Linked DNA regions of Homo sapiens: all the other regions are linked to region 4. The links are contacts of gene promoters, found by promoter capture Hi-C in blood cells and fetal thymus (Javierre and others, 2016). All regions are on one chromosome and are shown on one strand. Each heading gives the region's core, a stretch centred on a gene start or on the middle of the fragment in contact. The rest is flanking DNA. Distances are from core to core; before and after follow the strand shown.

What was found. Contacts are between HindIII fragments. The CHiCAGO score rates a contact against its expected background, and 5 or more counts as called.
Region 1: a fragment that was not itself captured here is called in contact with the fragment with the promoter of BBIP1 in region 4 in 1 of 17 cell types (erythroblasts); the score reaches 6.3 in erythroblasts.
Region 2: a contact is called between a fragment that was not itself captured here and the fragment with the promoter of BBIP1 in region 4, in 1 of 17 cell types (erythroblasts). The highest score is 5.2, in erythroblasts.
Region 3: a fragment that was not itself captured here is called in contact with the fragment with the promoter of BBIP1 in region 4 in 1 of 17 cell types (monocytes); the score reaches 5.3 in monocytes.

The regions. Positions count from the first base shown.
Region 1 is chr10:112,182,355-112,186,549 of GRCh38, reverse strand. GPAM (glycerol-3-phosphate acyltransferase, mitochondrial) reads left to right here and starts at 2,785. Exons shown (of 22, transcript NM_001244949.2): 1 at 2,785-2,857; 2 at 3,659-3,756. RefSeq lists a silencer at 2,638-2,867. The HindIII fragment of the contact is 4,662 bases long and covers 1-4,093 here.
Region 2 is chr10:112,375,620-112,380,198 of GRCh38, reverse strand. The region is part of intron 1 of ACSL5 (acyl-CoA synthetase long chain family member 5); the gene reads right to left. Among named protein-coding and RNA genes, the nearest start is that of ACSL5, 3.8 kb to the right of the region's middle. RefSeq lists enhancers at 3,350-3,850, 3,873-4,092, 3,851-4,351, 4,233-4,382. The HindIII fragment of the contact is 4,411 bases long and covers 376-4,579 here.
Region 3 is chr10:109,911,261-109,915,764 of GRCh38, reverse strand. It overlaps XPNPEP1 (X-prolyl aminopeptidase 1), which reads left to right. Exons shown (of 21, transcript NM_020383.4): 2 at 666-754. Among named protein-coding and RNA genes, the nearest start is that of XPNPEP1, 10 kb to the left of the region's middle. RefSeq lists enhancers at 1,874-2,529, 2,876-2,925. The HindIII fragment of the contact is 2,633 bases long and covers 1,462-4,094 here.
Region 4 is chr10:110,916,166-110,920,489 of GRCh38, reverse strand. It overlaps BBIP1 (BBSome interacting protein 1), which reads left to right and starts at 1,310. Exons shown (of 4, transcript NM_001195305.3): 1 at 1,310-1,369; 2 at 2,277-2,369. The coding sequence starts at 2,333. It overlaps SHOC2 (SHOC2 leucine rich repeat scaffold protein), which reads right to left and starts at 886. Exons shown (of 9, transcript NM_007373.4): 1 at 833-886. RefSeq lists silencers at 427-516, 527-966, 1,817-1,976 and enhancers at 1,187-1,236, 1,257-1,456, 1,146-1,685. The HindIII fragment of the contact is 2,602 bases long and covers 1-2,148 here.

The DNA.
Region 1 (4,195 bases), core at 513-3,012, 1.3 Mb before region 4:
AAATAAAATAAATTAAAATAAAAGGGTTTAAAAAATAAGAAAAATTATTTACCTACGTATTTGTGGTTTCTTAAGCTCTTAATTCCTTTGCATAGATTCAGAATTCCATCTGACAGCATTTTTTTTTTGCCTGAAAGACTTTCTTTAACATTGCTTATAGAACGGTCCTGCTGGTGATGAATTCTTTTGGCAATTCGATGTCAAAATATGTTTTTATTTTATTTTTTTGATATATATAAAAATATATAAAATGTACATACCATATATTAATATAAAAAGAACTCTTGATTGATAGGTTCTTCATTCAGTACTTCAGATGCTGCTCCACCATCTTCTGGTTTGCATTTTTCTGATGTGAAATCTGCTGTCATTCTTATCTTTGTTCCTCTGTACAGTAATGTCTTTTTTTTTCTCTCTGATAGCTTTTAAGATTTTCTCTTTATCAGTGGCTTTAGGCATTTTGATTGTGATGTTTCTTGGTATGGTTTTCTTCATGTTTCTACTGAGTTTGTTGAGCTTTTTGGGTTTATAAGTTTATAGTTTTGGTCAAATTTGGAAAGTTTTCATCAATTATTCTTTCAAATGCTTTTTTCTGTCCTCCCTAATCTATTCTCACCTCATATTTCTCATTTTCTTCAGGGACTACAATTGCATGTATACTAGGCTCACTGATACTCTACTTTTACTTTCAGTATTTTTCTTCCCTTAGTGTTTCATTTTGGATAGTTTCTATCACAATGCTTTCAAGTTTTTTTTTGTTTGTTTGTTTTTGTTTTTGAGACAGAGTCTCGCTCTGTCACCCAAGCTGGAGTGCAGTGGCACAATCTTGGCTCACTGCAAGCTCTGCCTCCTGGGTTCACGCCATTCTCCTGCCTCAGCCTCCCGTCAGGTTTTTTACTGTTTCTTTTTTAGTAATGTCTAACCTATTAATCCTGTGTGTGTGTGTGTGTGTGTGTGTGTGTGTGTGTGTGTGTGTGTCTGTGTGTGTGTGTTAGGGTGTTAAAAATCTTAGATGTGGTTTTATTATCTCCTAGATGTTTGGTTTGTGTCTTTTTTTTTTTTAAAGATTTTTCACATCTCTACTTCCCATGCTCAGTTTATTTTTTCTACTTGTTGAAAACATTGAATACAGTCATAATTACTTTCTTAATGTCCTTGTTCTCTTATTTTATCATCTCTGTCATTTCTGGGATGATTTCAATTGGTTGATTTTTTTTTCTCATTTCCTGCTTCTTTTCGCATGCCTGATAATTCTGTTTGGATTCCAGATGTTGCAAATTTTACCTTGTTAGGTGTTGGTTATTTTTAATTTCCTGTAAATATTCTTGTGCTTTGCTCTGGGACACTTTGTTCTCAAAAACGGTTTAATCCTTTGGTGGCTGGCTTTTAAGATTTCTAAGATAGAATCAGAGTAGCTTTTACATTAGAGCTAATTTTGCCCCACTACTGAAGCAAAACCATTTGAGTTGTGAATTATGAGGTTTTCCAGTCGGGGTGCCAGGATCAGGCACTATTTCTGGTCCTGTATAATCACTGGGTATCTTTCTACTCTGCCTTGTGGGAGCAGAATTAATTTCCTACCCTGTGCAAACTTTAGTAATTGCTCTCTCTTTTCTTCATACATGATTATTTCCTGCCCTTAGGTAGCTTCCTCACACACATGCTCTAATCAGCGGAAGACTGGAGTGAGATCTGTTGTAGATCTCCACAGCTCCTTCTTTCTCTGTGTAGCTTTCTCCTTTCTGATATACAACTCACAGTTCCAGCTGCTTTGGCCTCCCTGCTCTCCCAGTTCTATCTCTTCAACTCAGGGAGTCTGCCTAGCTCTTTTTGGCTGCTCCCTCTAGTTAGTAAATCAAGGCAATCATAGGGCTCACCTCATTTGTTTTCCCTCCTCAAGGACCACTGTCCAGCACAACGTTTAAAAGCCATTGTCTTATAAATGCCTGTTTGTTTTTGTTTTTAGTTGTTTTAGGCAGGAGAGTAAATTCAGTCCTGTTGCTCCATCTTAGCTGGCTAGACTGGATTGCTATAAATTTTAAACTATCTAAATAGTTGCATATATTTAGGGGGTACAAATCGATGTTATGACTTATGAATACAATGTGGAATAACTGAATCAAGCTAATTGACATATCCACCTCAAATACTTCTCAGTTTTCATGGTGAGAACTTTTGAAATGTACTCTTAGCGATTTTGAACTGTATAATACATTATTATTTACTATATTCACCATGCTGTGTAACATATAGTCCGAAGGGGGAAAAAAGCCCTTATTTCTCCTAACTGAGGCTTTTTATACTACAAGCCTTATTTGCTTCTTTTCATATCTCATTTTCCTCCTTAAAGGAAAAGGCACTCAGCCACTTTGGTAGAAATTACACAACATGGCCATTTGCAATCCCTGCCTCTCCCATTCGTAGTAAATCCTACATAGTCTTACAGATCTCATAAAAAGTCAGACCACACACATAACCTGATAGCCCACGCGCACATTCCCAACAGAGCCTGGAAGAGGGACAAGCTCCCGGATAAGCTGAATTTACACAAAGCAGAATGAGGTACCCACACACACTCACACACGCATGGCCTAGGCAGGGTAACCATCTGTCCAGGCGCTCACACACTATCTTTAGCCACACACAGGCACGCACACTCGAGTACACACATTACACCCTCGGATCCGCTCACGCTCCCTGAGGCTCGCAGGCCGGGCCCCGCCCCCGGCGCTGGCTAGCCGGCGGCCCCGCGTCAATGCCACGCGCCGGTTGCGTCATCAGGGTGCGCCACTGCAGCTGGCATTGGCCGGGACTGGAAGTGCGGGCTTCTGCAGCAGCCGAAGCTGGAGCTGCTAGGGTGCGAACTGCCAGGGCAGGTGTGGGCTGCGGGAGGCTACTCGGGCCGGGAGCGCCGGGACAAGTGCATGGAGGTGGTGCGACTCCTGCAAGTTGCTGGGGCAGTCGTGTCCCCTATTCCCTGACACCCGAGCTCCGGTCTTCTCCCTGAGAAATCGGTCGGGCTCGTGCAGGGGTGGGGATCAGGATTCATCTCTCCTGGGGAGACTGCGCTGGGGCATGGGTTCCCCTGGGTTGGAAGGAGTCCTTATGGACTCAGTCCCCTAAGTATCTGCACGCGCGGAGGCGCCGCCAGCCAGCCCGCCTGGGTCCCTAGGGAACATTGAGGCAGTAAGGGGTACTCTGAGAGCAGCCGGTATGCTGGAGATAATTAATGACAGCGTTACCATTGATTGGACTGAGCGCTCACTGTGTGTTACACACTGTGGTAGACCCTTTGTTTATATTATTCCGTCCTCTCAACAATCCAGGAGGTTAAGAGCTATCATTCTGCCCATTTTCCAGATGGGAAAACTAAGGCATAGAAGTTAACCAACTTATGGTAATAAAAAATCACACAGATGGTAAGCAGTGGAAGATTTAAACCTCACAGCTGGTCTTCCAGCCTCTGTCCTTTTCAGATCCTCTAGTCAGCTTCTCTCAGCGCATGCTGCTGGCTGGTGCCTCTGGGATATTGCTTCTTTATTACTCCTTGACCTAGAGCGAACTGTGCGGAGGGAGGAAGTGCAAAACGTGGACCTCCTGTTGGCACAAACGAGCCTCTTTGTCCTCTCCTCATCCTCTCTTCACTTCATTTTCTCAGGCAGCAGCGGCTCCCCTGTTGTATGGACATTCTGCACCCGAAACTGATAGCTGAGTCCTGAAGTTTTATGTTATGAAACAGAAGAACTTTCATCCCAGGTGCATTGGTTTATTCTCTCCCCTAGCCTGTTATGTTAGATTGTACTTATGTTAAATTTTTAAGGACATAGGTGGTTATGCCGAGAATAACAGTGACTGTAGCCAACCCATGTGGGGATTGTAAAGAAATTGGAATATGCCTTCCAAAGGAACACTGTTAATCTAGACATGACCTTTCAGGATTTTAAAGGAATAATTTTAGGCCAGGTGAGAAACAGCCAAAAGCAAAAATAATGTGAGGCTAGAGATTATGTTTGAAAGTTTTTATATTTTGGATTAATATCTATTCTAGGAGTTTACTCTTAGTGAATCTTTTTCCTTAGGGTAGAAAAAAGCTTATCGAAAAGGATGAAAACTTATACATCAGATATTTCAAAATAGTGTGCTTTTCTTTCAGAGCTTTGTAGCTTTGTATTACCTTTGTATTAAAAGTGAAAAT
Region 2 (4,579 bases), core at 1,332-3,831, 1.5 Mb before region 4:
CCACAGGAGCTCAGGTCGATAGAGTCAACCTTGATCCACCACTGGGCTTCAAGTGAGTCACAGTCCAAATCCCGACCCCGGGACAACTTGTGTCAGTAACACCCCCAAAGGGCATCCCAGGCCTGCTGCTGACCAAGTATATTATGACAGAACTGGGGTAAGAAGAAGCAGTGTCAGAAGTCCACTGGATCTGATAAGGGGGTCTGTAAAAAGATAGGCCGGACAAAGTGCTAGGACCCTGTCACCTGTGCCAGGGTGAGGCAAGAGGTTGGGAAAGCAGACTTCTTGCCTTAGTTTTCTGCAGAATCAGCCCTTGCACTGCCTGTCCCAACCAGTGGTCAAGGGTCAACAGTTTCAAAGTGCAGGCAACAAGCTTTCTTGTCAACGGTGTCATTGCCAGGGGCAAACTTTCAAGGTCGTGCCCTTCCAGGTACCAGAGCAACAGCTCCTCACTTACTACATGTGTAGCCCTGGGGACAGTTACTTAGAGTCACTGAGCATCAGTTCCCCGCCACTGTACACAGAAGGAGCAGGTGAAAATCGCTACTTAAAGGAGATGCTGTGTGTAGAACAGTTGGTATGCTGTCAGGCACATGGGAAGTCCTCAATCAAATCTAGCTCCCCTTTCCTTCCCTTTTCCTCAGTTTTCACATCCTTGCCAATATCAGATGTTCTATTACGAGATGTCCCAAAAGAAAAGAGATGACCACGGTCTTGAACGATTACTGCCCCTCCACTTCTGTGCAAAGGTTTTAACAAGCCCTCATCTCTTTTTTTTTTTTTTCTTTTTTTTGAGATGGAGTTTCACTCTTGTCACCCAGGCTGGAGTGCAGTGGCGAGATCTCAGCTCACTGCAACCTCCGCCTCCTGGGTTCAAGCGATTCTCCTGCCTCAGCCTCCCGAGTAGCTGGGATTACAGGCAGCTGCCACCACGCCCAGCTAGCTTTTGTATTTTTAGCAGAGATGGGGTTTCACCATGTTGGCCAGGCTGGTCTCAAACTCCTGATTTCAAGTGATCTGCCTGCCTCGGCCTCCCAAAGTGTTGGGATTACTGGCATGAGCCACTGCGCCCGGCCAACAAGCCCTCATTTCTATTTAAACAGAGCACTTCTAGTTGTAGGGAACCATGGCCTGTCTCTGACCTAGCTTTACCCCAGACCTCAAATCCTCAACTTGAGCCACTCGCAACCTCACAACTCTTAGAATAGAATGGCCCATGAAGACTGGGAGATCCACCAGCTTCCCCAAAGAAGGCTAATAGTGTGGCCTGACCACAGCATTGCACGGGCTGTCTGACCTTCCAAACTCCAGATCTCATGTATTTATTCAAACAATGAGTTGAGAACCTAGGAAGTGTCAGGCCCTGCGCCAGGGAGGACAAGTTGGTGAGAGAGTCCCTTTCCGACCTCAGGATGTACAGACATAGAGGGGAGAAATAGACCCAGATGCATTTCCAGCAGAATGTGATAAGCAGTGATGGCTGGACTCATGGCTGCTGGGGTTACGTCACCCTTGCTTGATGCTGCCAGGCACAAGAGTCACCTCTGACTGCACTCCAGCTGAGGGTCTGCTCATCTGCTGAGGAGGCATATGAGAGACAGACAGGAGCAGACACTGTATTCCTGGTTTCTAAGAAGCTGGCAAATCCTATAGGCCAGGTGCAGTGGCTCACACCTGTAATCCCAGCACTTTGGGAGGCCTAGGCAGGCAGATAACTTGAGGTCAGGAGTTTGAGACCAGCCTGGCCAATATGGTGAAACCCTGTCTCTACTAAAAGTACAAAAATTATTTGGGCATGGTGGTGCATGCCTGTAATCCCAGCTACTCAGGAGGCTGAGGCAGGAGAATTGCTTGAACTGGGGAGGCAGAGGTTGCAGTGAGCCAAGATGTTGCCACTGCACTCAAGCCTGGGAGTCTAGGTGACAGAGTGAGGCTCCTCCAAAAAAAAAAAAAAAAAAAAAAAAAAAAAAACAAGAAGAAGAAGATTGTCTTGATTAAATATAAGAGTACCTACTGTGTACTGGTACTTCCCTGGCTTCATCTTCCCTCTCTCCATTCATTTCTCTCTCCTTCCTCCATCTCCAGCCTCCATGTAGTATCTGTGGTCTCACTATAGGTGGATGGTTAGGTATGCAATGACACGCTGATGTTGTTGTTGGTGTCTTTGCCCTCAAAAAATTACAATATAGCCTGGGAGAGACTATTTTAGGTCAGGCTAGGCTGAAATATTCTGTTTGGTCTGGATTAAAAAGTGTTTTCTCTTTTTTAATAATTAAATTTGAATGCATTTATCTGGGGTATGCCTGCTCTGAATTTTGCTAAAGTTTCCACCATTAGCATCTTATTACACACCATCTACTTTACTTCTCTATATTACTTGCCTGTCCTATAAGCATTTGCACTTACACTTCTTGTTTTATTTAGGTTTTTGTTCCTTTTATTATGCCAAATACACAAAAGATGGCTATAAAATTTTACACCATGCCTCTTTCAAGACATGTTCTGTGTTTAACCTTGAATACTGATCAATCGGAGGGGACTACCACAGAGTGACTCCATATCAGAATATGAAGGGAGAAATAAACAAAACCAATTACTCCTTTTTTAAAAGAAAACTAAGTCAGTTTTCAATGTTTTTTTATTTGTTTGTTTGTGTGTTGTTTTTGAGCCAGAGTCTTGCTCTGTCATCCAAACTGGAGTGCAGTGGTGCCATCTCGGCTCACTGCAACCTCCGCCTCCTAGGTTCAAGCAATTGTCCTGCCTCCTGAGTTGCTGGGATTACAGGCGTACGCCACCACGCCAAGCTAATTTTTGTATTTTCAGTAGAGATGGGGTTTCGCCATGTTGGCCAGGCTGGTTTCTAACTCCTGACTTCAGGTGATCCACCCACCTCAGACTCCCAGAGTTCTGGGATTACAGGTGTGAGTCACTGCGCCCGGCCTTAACTTTATTTTTTAAGACTCTGCCTCTGATATAGAATACTAATCACCTACACATTGGAGCTATAGATTCAATTCTACCTTTCAGACCACCAAAAAAAGGCTGATATCTCAGAAGGTACCAAGCCCCGGTGGTAGAGTCCCTTTCCAGTGCTTATTCCCTGAGGGTCTCCGGTGGTAGAGTCCCTTTCCAGTGCTTATTCCCTGAGGGTCTCCGGTGGTAGAGTCCCTTTCCAGTGCTTATTCCCTGAGGGTCTCCAGTGGTAGAGTCCCTTTCCAGTGCTTACTCCCTGAGGGTCTTTGAGATTCACCTTAGGACCCTCAGGGAGTGGGCATTGGGAAGGAAGTACTTAGGAATTAAGCAGCACCTGAGACTTAACCTGTGGCCTTACTTCCTAAAATACACTCAGCTCCATTCATCTGTCTCTCCCACCCCATTGGTCTCATTCATCAGTCTTACCCAACATAAAATTGAGGGCAAACCCCCAGCCCACCTCAGGGGAGCTATGCTGGATGCTCAGACCCACAAAAAGAGGTCTCTGTTTTGGTTCACCTTCCCCAAGAGAGTCGAGAGAAGGAAAGTGAGCCCCATGCATGCCCCACATCCTTCCTTCCCGTTGCTCCTCCTGACACAGGGTCTGAAGGCATGACCGAGACCAGGAGGGAGACAGCATGATGTGCCCGTGGAACTCAGCCGGCCCTTGATTCTAAGTCGCTTAAAGAAAGTCGGGGGTCAGGATGCCCCCTTGGCCTCTGTCACACCCTCACAAGACCCCCTTGCTGAATAACACCCCCTCGATGGTCCCCTTACCCTGCGAGGGGGCCGCATCTCTCAGTGCTTCTAGTGAATGGGGGCTTCCCGGCTCTGAGTTCTTCCTGCCACACGAGTCCCTGTCCTTCTTCCCTCGCTCGTGGTTCCTCCAGAGACAGGGTGGCTTCAGAGCGTCCATGCAGGCAGAAGGCCGGCCCAGAGTGTCCCCAGTTCTGCCCTGCTCTGAGCTGTCCCGAGTCAGGCCATGTCAGGCTTTCTAACGTGCTCGGGGACTTCACTTCCTGGTTTTAATTTTTTTTTTCACAACTGAAAGTGGAAGTGTTCTGACCAGGAGGGGAGAAGCTGCCAAAGCTACCCTGGCTCCGTGTCAAAGCCTTTCACCTCAGCCCCTAAGGGCCGACACAAAAGCCAGCTTGCCTCAACACAGTTGACCCTGCCCTCCTGTGGCCTATCATCTTTCAACTAAGATGAAAACAAACAAACTAAAATGACTTGAGGTGCCCCCTCAGATCAGAAGCCTCACAGAGGCAGAGGTGACGCTGTTCCCTGCTGGATTCGGAGGACAGGAAAGTCTGGCTAGAGGGTACCTCAGCCCTCAGACCCACACAAACACCTTCTACCCCGCCTCTCTCCAGTCGCCAGAGCTGCCTGCCTTGGTCTCTGAAGAAGTTCTGGCAAAGCCAAGAAAATAAGCAAGTCAGGAACGACAGGGCTGTGAGTCGTTCAATTGGCATGGTTTCTTTCCCTCTGATACAGTCACACCTCAAAACTTAACTTAAAAATCGATTCTTTCGCCTTGGTCACCCCCAGTATTACCAGGACCTGTATTAGTCTCATTTTTGATCCGCCTAAGGCTGTGGCTACAGGG
Region 3 (4,504 bases), core at 1,529-4,028, 1.0 Mb after region 4:
CCATATGGGAACAAGAAGTTTGTGTGTAAATCTTCTAGCTAATAAATTAATGTGAAAGTCTTAGAAGCAAACAATAACAGAACTGCTTGTACAAACCAGGACCCATCACATTCTCATAGATAAATAGCCTCTATTGAAGATAAGCTCTTAATAAAAGATCACAAAACGCAGAAGGAATGAACCACCAAGAGGGAGAGGCAGCAGACCTAGCAAACATGAGGGTTAGTCTCCCAAGATCTATTTGAAAGTATGGGAGAAATTATAAAATAAGGGCCTACAGTAATGAAGGCACAAAGAGAAGGCATAGAAACCAGAGTGCAAGAATAGGACACCATAAAGAAAGAACGGGCAGATGTGAAAAAGAACCAAATAGAACTTGTGTAAGGAAAAAACATTGAAAATAAGTCTTCTTAGTCTAGTTAAATAGGAGGTGTGAGAATTTATGAACTAGAAGCTGCAACTGAGAAGGTTAACCTGCCATGGGGATGTTTTACACCTGCAAGTTTTACATCAAACTTTTATTTATTCTGCCACTGATAATGGGGGTGAAAGTTCTTCTGACTCATGTTAGAGAACTGCTAAGTTAAGCGATGCCTCCTCTAACTGAGCCTTGCCACGTTTATTGTGGTCAAAGTCTGCAACTTCCTGTTCTTTCTCTCCTTAAGGGTGAATCACCAGGATTTTCAACTGAGAAATTTAAGAATAATTGAACCTAACGAGGTGACACACTCAGGAGACACAGGTGTGGAAACAGGTAATAATTTTGTCTGGAAATTAGATGGAACATCTGTAAAGGATTTTAGATCTCCACCCCAACCCCAGGTTGGGTGAGAAGAAGAGGGTAAGGAATTAGTAACAGATCATGACTGGGGGTTAGTATCTGGAAGTTAAAAACCATTTTATTTTTTGGCTTCCTAAGTGGTTGGTTACTGTTTCTATATATTTACCATTTTTTTTTTTTTTTTTTGAGACGGAGTCTCGCCCTTGGTCACCCAGCCTGGAGTGCAATGGCGTGATCTCGGCTCACTGCAACCTCCGTCTCCCGGGTTCAAGCGATTCTCCTGCCTCAGCCTCCGGAGTAGCTGGGATTACAGGCGCCCGACACCACGCCCAGCTAATTTTGTATTTTTAGTAGAGATGGGGTTTCTCCATGTTGGCCAGGCTGGTCTTGAACTCCCGACCTCAGGTGATCTGCCCGCCTTGGCCTCCCAAAGTGCTGGGATTACAGGCATGAGCCACTGCGCCTGGCCATTACCATTTTTTTTTAAGGTAGTAAGTTAGAGAATTACAACTTTTTTTTTGTTGTTTGTTTTTTTCGTTTTCCATTTTTGTCAGAGTGGTGGTGGTGGAGAAGGAGATAGGTTATTATGGAAAATGTTCTCTATTTCTCTAATATAGTCCTTCATTATCTTAGAAATTAGCTTTCAATTTTGATCATAAGATTGCAAAATGAGAAAAGCTTGTAATATATTATTGTCCTTTATAAATTGAGTGTGCATTTAGGAAAGTCTTTTTGGGAAATATTTCTTGGCTGTCCCTTCTCCCCAGAACTGGTTAATTGTCTGATGGGTTGCCAGAAACCTGAATTCTGAAAAGTGGTGTATTACTGTATTTCTATCCCAGTAAGCCAGTACTGCTCTAACGACTACTAAGGAGAACCATGTGTTTTTTTTTTTTTTAGCTGACTGAAAAATTGATCTCTTGAAGTACATAAGAAACCATGCCCGTCTAATCTCTGTTTGGAAGATCAGTGCTATAATTGCATGCAATTTTAGATCCTTTTTCTTTAAAAAATATAGATGTATCCAACACATTTTGGACCATATTAGGAGGTAGCAGAGGAAGGAGGAAAAAGAGAAAGTAAAGAAAGGAAAAAAGTGATGGAATCATTAAACTTAGAGTTGGAAGATAACTTCTTTTTCTTTTTGTAATGTATGAGGAAATAGAGGTTAGGTAGCTTCAGTTGCCTGAGGTTGTAGATCCCAGCTGGAAACTGGAGCTCACTTGTTTTGCTTCTGTTGGTCTTAGAACACTTTAAGGCTCTATTATGTCCCCCAGCTAATATGGTGTAATAGAGCATGGACTTGGGAATTGCATAGACCTTGAGTCCCGGTTCCTGATGAACCAGCTGACTTTGGGCAAGTACTTAACTCCTTTTAACTCCTGTTCCTTTATGTGTAAAATGAGAATAGTGAAACCTCCCTTGGAGGATTGTTGTGAGAATTAGCCACTAATGTATGTAAAGCCCTTAGCGTTCCCTCAGCTGTGCAACAGAGAAACAAACCACTACCTCTAAAGCTATTGATGCTGGAAGAGCATCTGTGCCCGTGTTAAGATGCTGAAATTGGAGTAAACTGGCCCCTTCCATTCTTATAACGAGACTTGGGAATTCCAGCTGGTGCTTCAGATCCAGATTCAAATATTTCTTGAGCTCCTGCAGTGTAATAGATGCTGTGCATGGTGCTTTCACACACATTATCATGTTTAATTTGCCTGGCCACCAGTGAGGTAAGTATGGTGTGCTTTTCATGTACAATCAGTGAAAAATCTTGTTTGTGATAAAGGCTGAAGGTGTGGGAACTTATTTCTAAAAGCAGACCTGTATATGCAAGACTTTTAAGTGAGTCATTCTCTGTAAGGCATAGTTTGAAAATACCTGGCAGTGTATGGGCTAATGTTTCATCGTGGACTAGGCCTGTTGCTCTTGGCTTCCTACTTTGCTGCATACTTTGCTTAGCTCTTGGCTGTTTCTAACATTTCTGAAAAGTCATAGGATGTGGAATGAGCAGATGTCATAATACAGCACCTTGCAAGAGCCTATCTGTCACTGAAGATTCATTACTGTTCATTGAGACTGAAAAGATCATAGATCCAATGTTGTGAATTTGATTTAGCCATCTTTGAGTGAGCATATGTATATGTTAATTGTAGATACATGGATACAGAGATGACATCATCCCTGCCTTCCGGAGAAGTGGTATACACACCTGTTTACACAATTTATCACATTGCATTTATGGTTAGTTGTGTGTCTAACTCTAATAACATTAAACATTTACATGACATTTGTTATGTGCCAGGTACTGTTTCTAAGTGCCATATGTATAGTAACTCATTTACTCCTTATACAAATTATGAGGGTCATTAGCTACAACTTTCACTTCCTCCATCTTGGCTGCCTTTTCAACCAGTGCCACCTCAATGGCTAGGACTTATATAATTGCACCAACTTTGTTCTCTCCTTAGCTCCAGCTGCTCACTCATTCAATCACTTTCCATCACCTGTTTTCCTTGTGGGTACAGCTGCCTCAACCACCAGGGCCCACTGTATTCACTTCAGTGGTAGCTGCCTCACTGCCTCAGCCATTGCCTGTTGCTATCTTCTTCACCTTCACTGTTGCTGCCACTGCCCCTTACCACATCCTAACTATTGGTTATGGTATTGGGACTTCTTTCATCATGTCTAATATTGATGATAAAGAAGTAGCTGCATTGCACCCAGAACATGAATGTGATCGGCCTGAAGGATGAGGAAGTAGGAAGAGGGAAAGTGTTGAGTGTTGATGGGGGTAGGTAGCATTGTGGAGGGGAGTGTCAGTGAGACTGATAAAGCTGATGATTCTGTGGGGGTCTGATATGCCAGTCACCAGGGGAAACGTGATGATGTGATGGTGGTAGTGATGAAGATCAGAATGTGGGAATGAGGAGGCAGGTTGTGATGACCAGGAAGCAGAGGATGTTTTTGAACAGATCCAGTTTGTTTTTGTTGGTTTTTAGTTTGCAGTTGAAGATTTTGTGCTCATGATTGGTTGTGTTAACGTTATTGATGAAGTTAGTGACTGATAATATTGATACTACAATCAGCACTAAACACCCAGTCAGTGCCACCAAAATCCTTACGTCAGAATGTACCTGAATGGAAGGCAGAGTCTATAAAGAAATAAATGATCTTGAAAGAAAGTATATTAGACTCTTATATTTTTGCATTTTAAAACTCCTGAAGCCAAGGCTGTACTCCAGACCAGTTAAGTCAGATGTTTCCCGGATAGTCCTAATGTGCAGCCAGTGTTGAAGTCCTGCTCCTAAAGAAAGCTTCATTTTTGCTTGACTGTTTTTAAGAATGATAACTTGCTCAGAAATATGGTTTGAAAACACAATAAATCTATTCTGAAGCTCCTGAAAGATATCAGAGTAAAATTTTTAGATGCTGGCAAGCTTGGGAGATCACAATGGGCTTTATTTTGAACCCCCAGTGGAGGTGTTGACATATAAACTTGGATCAGACCAGATACTTCCGATCCCTTTTTCTCTGATAGGTGAGAAATTATAGGCCCAGTAGATTAGACGAAAGGATAGCTGGATGTGGTGGTGTGTACCTGTAGTCCCATTTACTTGGGAAGCTGAGGCGGGAGGATCACTTGAACCCAGGAGTCCAGCCTGGACAATGTAGTAAGACCCCGTCTCCCCTCAGAAAAAAAAAGAATGCCCCTCTGAACAATATTCA
Region 4 (4,324 bases), core at 61-2,560:
GTCATTACTCTTCCACCTAGGCATGGGGGGAGGGGGATGGTACAAAAACAATGGATATTGAGGTGCTGGGGGAAAAATCGTCTTGCCCCAAAGCCTCTTGTGTTATGAGCCTGGGGAAGTCGGGGAAGAGTGAGACTACTTTTCCTCTCTCCCTAAAAGCTGTGCTATCACGGGGAGAGGTTGCCATCGGGCATGTTCTACGAGGCGGTCTCGAAGGGCTACAACTCGCTTCGCTAGGCAACACACCCAGAGCCGATCCAGCACTCTTCACTCAAGGGTTTTTAGGGAGAGGAGAACGGGAGAGCAAGGTGGACTCCAGGGAGGGGGCGAGAAGAGACCCCACCCTGTATGACCGCCGCTGCGCCCGGGCCCTCGCCAACGATTTACACGACTCGGGGCGCCCTGCGGACTGGGCCCGGGGGCCCAGGGAGCCGAGAGGAGAGAGACTGTCCGCCGGGGGCCCCCGGCCCGCGCCCTCGCGCCGGCTCGCCGTCGCCCAGGCGCTGTCCGGGCCGCCCGCCGCCGCCGCCGCAGGCCCGGCCCCGGCCGCTGTCACACCCGACCGCCTTCCTCTCCGCGCCGGGCTGCAGGCTCCCACGCGAGCCGGCTCCAAGGGCCCCGCACTCCCGGAGACAGCAACCAGGAAAGCGGCGGCGGCGGCGCCTCCCAGGGCCCCGGCCCCTCGGGCCTCGCCCCGGCGCTGCCGGCTCGCGCCTGTCAGGGCGCACGGGGCCTCCCCCTACCGACAGCCAGCCCGACTGCCCGACGGACAGGAAGGCAGGCAGGAAGAACCGACCAACAGACACCCTCCGCCTCATCGGCCCCGAGTTACCGTCAGGAGCCCCGACTCCGCCATCCTCCTCGCTCGCCCTCCTTCCTCCTCTTCCTCCTCCTCCTAAGAAGCGACGCTGCCCAACCGCCGCCCCCCGCCCGCCCCTCCCCCACTCGCCCCGCCCCGCCCGCCCCGCCACTACTCTCGCTCCAGCCTCCCCGCCCCACCCCTCTGCCGTGGGCCCGTCACTCGCTAGGCAAGAAAAATGGGCGGAACCGGGGCAAGAGAAGCTGCCCAATCAGAGACGGGCAGTGCCGCCAGCTTCTCTCTCTCCGCCCTTGTCCTTTCCTCAGTTCCTCTACGCCGTCTCCCGCCCACTGGGCGCCTCTGGCTAGCCGGGCTACAGAGTAAGCCTCCAGCAGGGTAGAGTGACAACTCCCCGATCGGAAGTTACTGTTGAAGCTAAGGCGGCCATAACTGATAATGGCAAAAGGAGATTCCTGGCTTCCTGTTTCCAGGGTGACGTAGATTTTTTTCCTTCGCCAGTCTCACCGTTACCCGGGGCAACAGCTGAGCCGTCTGGGAAGGGATGCATCTGTAAGTAAGCCCAAAGAGGTACCGTGGGTGACCACACATCCCATGTTAGACAAGTTAATTCATACTCCGGATTACACGTCCAGTTTCCTGGCCCTTATTTTACTGAGACGTCTGGTCACTTACGGAGATGGACAACAGTTTAGGGCTCCGAAATTCCCTCTCCTGCCCGGAAGTTGCATTTGGCACTTCCGAATTGGGTCATGGCGGAAGGGTGTTAATAGCCTGGCCGCCCGTGCCCCAGGGAATGCTTATTTTTGACCTTAGTTGCAAAGTGAGGTGAGTCCGTGGACCCCAACCAGTGGGCCGGACCCGGGCCGGACGGTCCCTGTGGGACAGAGCGCTGAAATGGCGAGCGGGGCTCAGGGCCGCTTCCGTTGGAAGGCGGTTTTTTTCCGGGCTGGCCTGGCGGCGGCCCGCCCCCGTGAGGCTCCCTGTGGGGTGAGGCCGCTCTACAGGCCGCCCTAACCCAGCCAGAGGCAGCCCGGCCGGGAGGACCCCAGCGGGGAATGGGCGGGGACCTCGGGGCGGAGCTCCTAACTCCGGCAAAACGGAGCTCTTGACCACGCCTCCGCAAGTTCCTATTAAGTACTTTCACTCCTTGGCCTTTGGAGGGAGGAGAATTCGGGAACTTCAGAAAATCATTTTCCACCTTCACCTATAAAAGGAAAAGATGAGCCCCTACCACCAGGGCAGGACCTCAATCTTTTTCCCCTGCCACCTGCCTTCCCATTCTGATTTTTCCCCCCTTTCCGCGTCTCTCCTTTGAGTCTTTGTAAGCTTTGACTGCGGTTCTGGTGGTGGGATTCCTGCAGGTCTACAGTTTCTTAAACAACGTGTTGAAGATTTTTGAAAATACTGTATTGCTTTTATATGGCCCTTTACAAAGTTATCATACATTATCTTGTAGTTTCTTCTGTATGCTTGAGTCAAGAACTCTAAGTCATCTTGGTAATACCGGGTTGGATGCTTAAAGCTGCAGCAAAAAGACCAGAACTTTCAGGTAAAATTGAAAATGGTTAATATCCAGCCAGTCAACAATACAGATGCAAACCTACCTTCTCGACTTAATTTCTGCTTCCTTAGTACTTACACGCCAGCCAAAATGAACTACTCTTGTTTCTTTGCTGTTAATTACTGAAATCTGTTGTAGCAGTCACCTTTTGTGATTCTGTATCTGATTCTGTTACCCGTGGAGATGTGTTTCCAGATTCTTCCCAGCAGGAAGTAATTTCCTCTGAGTTTAGCATTTTTTGTACATCTTTTATGACAATCAGTATGTTATATATATATAATAGCGCTTATGTTTTTAGCTTCACTACCATGTCTGCACCTAAATAGAATGGTTTGTATCAGATTCGTCTTCCCGTCATTTTCACCATGCACATGATATTATTTTGGTAAATACTTACTGAAAGTTTGAATATATCGGGTGTCTCTTGGATGCCCAAGACACTTCCAGCCAAGTTTTAGAGACCTTCAATTTATCAGAAATTCAGCTGAGCGCCTGCTACTCAATCTTTGTTTTACGTTTCCCCTGTGAAGTCTTTCTGACATGATTTTTTTCCCCAGTGTTTTATTATGAAAGTGTTCATATATTTAAAAGCTGAAAGAAATAATTTAATGAATATTCATGTACCCATCATCTATATGCAGCAGTTAACATTTTGCCATTTTTTTTCATTCCTCCCCACTTTTTCATTGTCATAAAAAGTTGCAGACACTTATTGTTAGGCAAGACACCCTTAAGATTTCCAGCATGAATTTCCTAAGAATTTTGAAGTTCTCCAGCAAAACACAATATCATTATTTCAGCTGTTTTGTAACTTTTAAAATCTAGGCCAAGTGCTAATTTTCCTAATTTACCCAGGAATATCTTTTATACCTTCTCCTTCCCAATCCTGCAAAAAAAAAAAAAAAAAAAAAAAATCAGGATCCAGTCAAAATTTTTCTTTAGCTTTAATGTAGTAGAGTTCCCCCATCTTTTTTCCCCCTGTGACATTGGCATTTTGAAGAGTTCAAGGCAGGAGTCTTTTTGGAAATGGGCCCCTCTTTTTTCTTCTTGTAAACCAGAAGTTAGTCTAGAGGCTTAAGCTGAACATTTTTTTTGCAAGGATATGTCACAGTATTCACACTTTTCTAGTCATGACTAAGCCTTCTCAAACGCAGCTATACGCACTTTGCCGTGAGTTGCTGGTTAAATCCATCTCACTTCTTAGCATGCTTACCCCTCTCCAGTGTCCTACAAAGAAGAGGGTAGCATTTAATCCTGTGTGTATAGAGTATGTGTTAGTGCCTTGGGTTGGCAACATTGACTACCTTTAATAAAGTGTTGCTGCTACTTTGCCTATTCTTGGAGCTGATGCAATGACTTTCTGCAGTAAAGTGTACTGATGTCAGCATAGTTTATGAGTGTCAACTCCTGGCACCCTGCAGACATTGTTGAAAGATGTGTGGGCCCTGCAATTCAAATACAGATGAATCTTGATGTTATCAAAGCAAATACCAAGGCAACTGTTGGCCATCTGGTCACATTCCAATTTAGGCAATGTTATTTTTCTCACTGAAATTCTCATGCAAGTCTTAATTGGTCCTGGTGTTTTTATGATAGCTTTTTGGTAGCATTAAGCAGAGCCTATTAAAAATTGCAAAATCAAGATTATACTTAACACTTAGTACACTAGATACGTTCTCTGCCCAATGGATAGAGAAGTGTTTGTGGAATTTACTTCCTAATCACAAAGGGAAAACTCAAGACTGCCAACGTCGTATACTCCTCCTAGCCTAGACTTATATTTGATCATGAAAGATAAGTGAAAGGAAAAAACTGCACATAAGGGAGCAGAAGAAAATGCTCTGGGAGGACAGAATTTTTTAGATTGGTATAGAATGTTTTTAGCCATCATATTGAAAATTACATAGTGCATTCTGTTAGTTGCTTCCTTTGTGTAGAAGGGA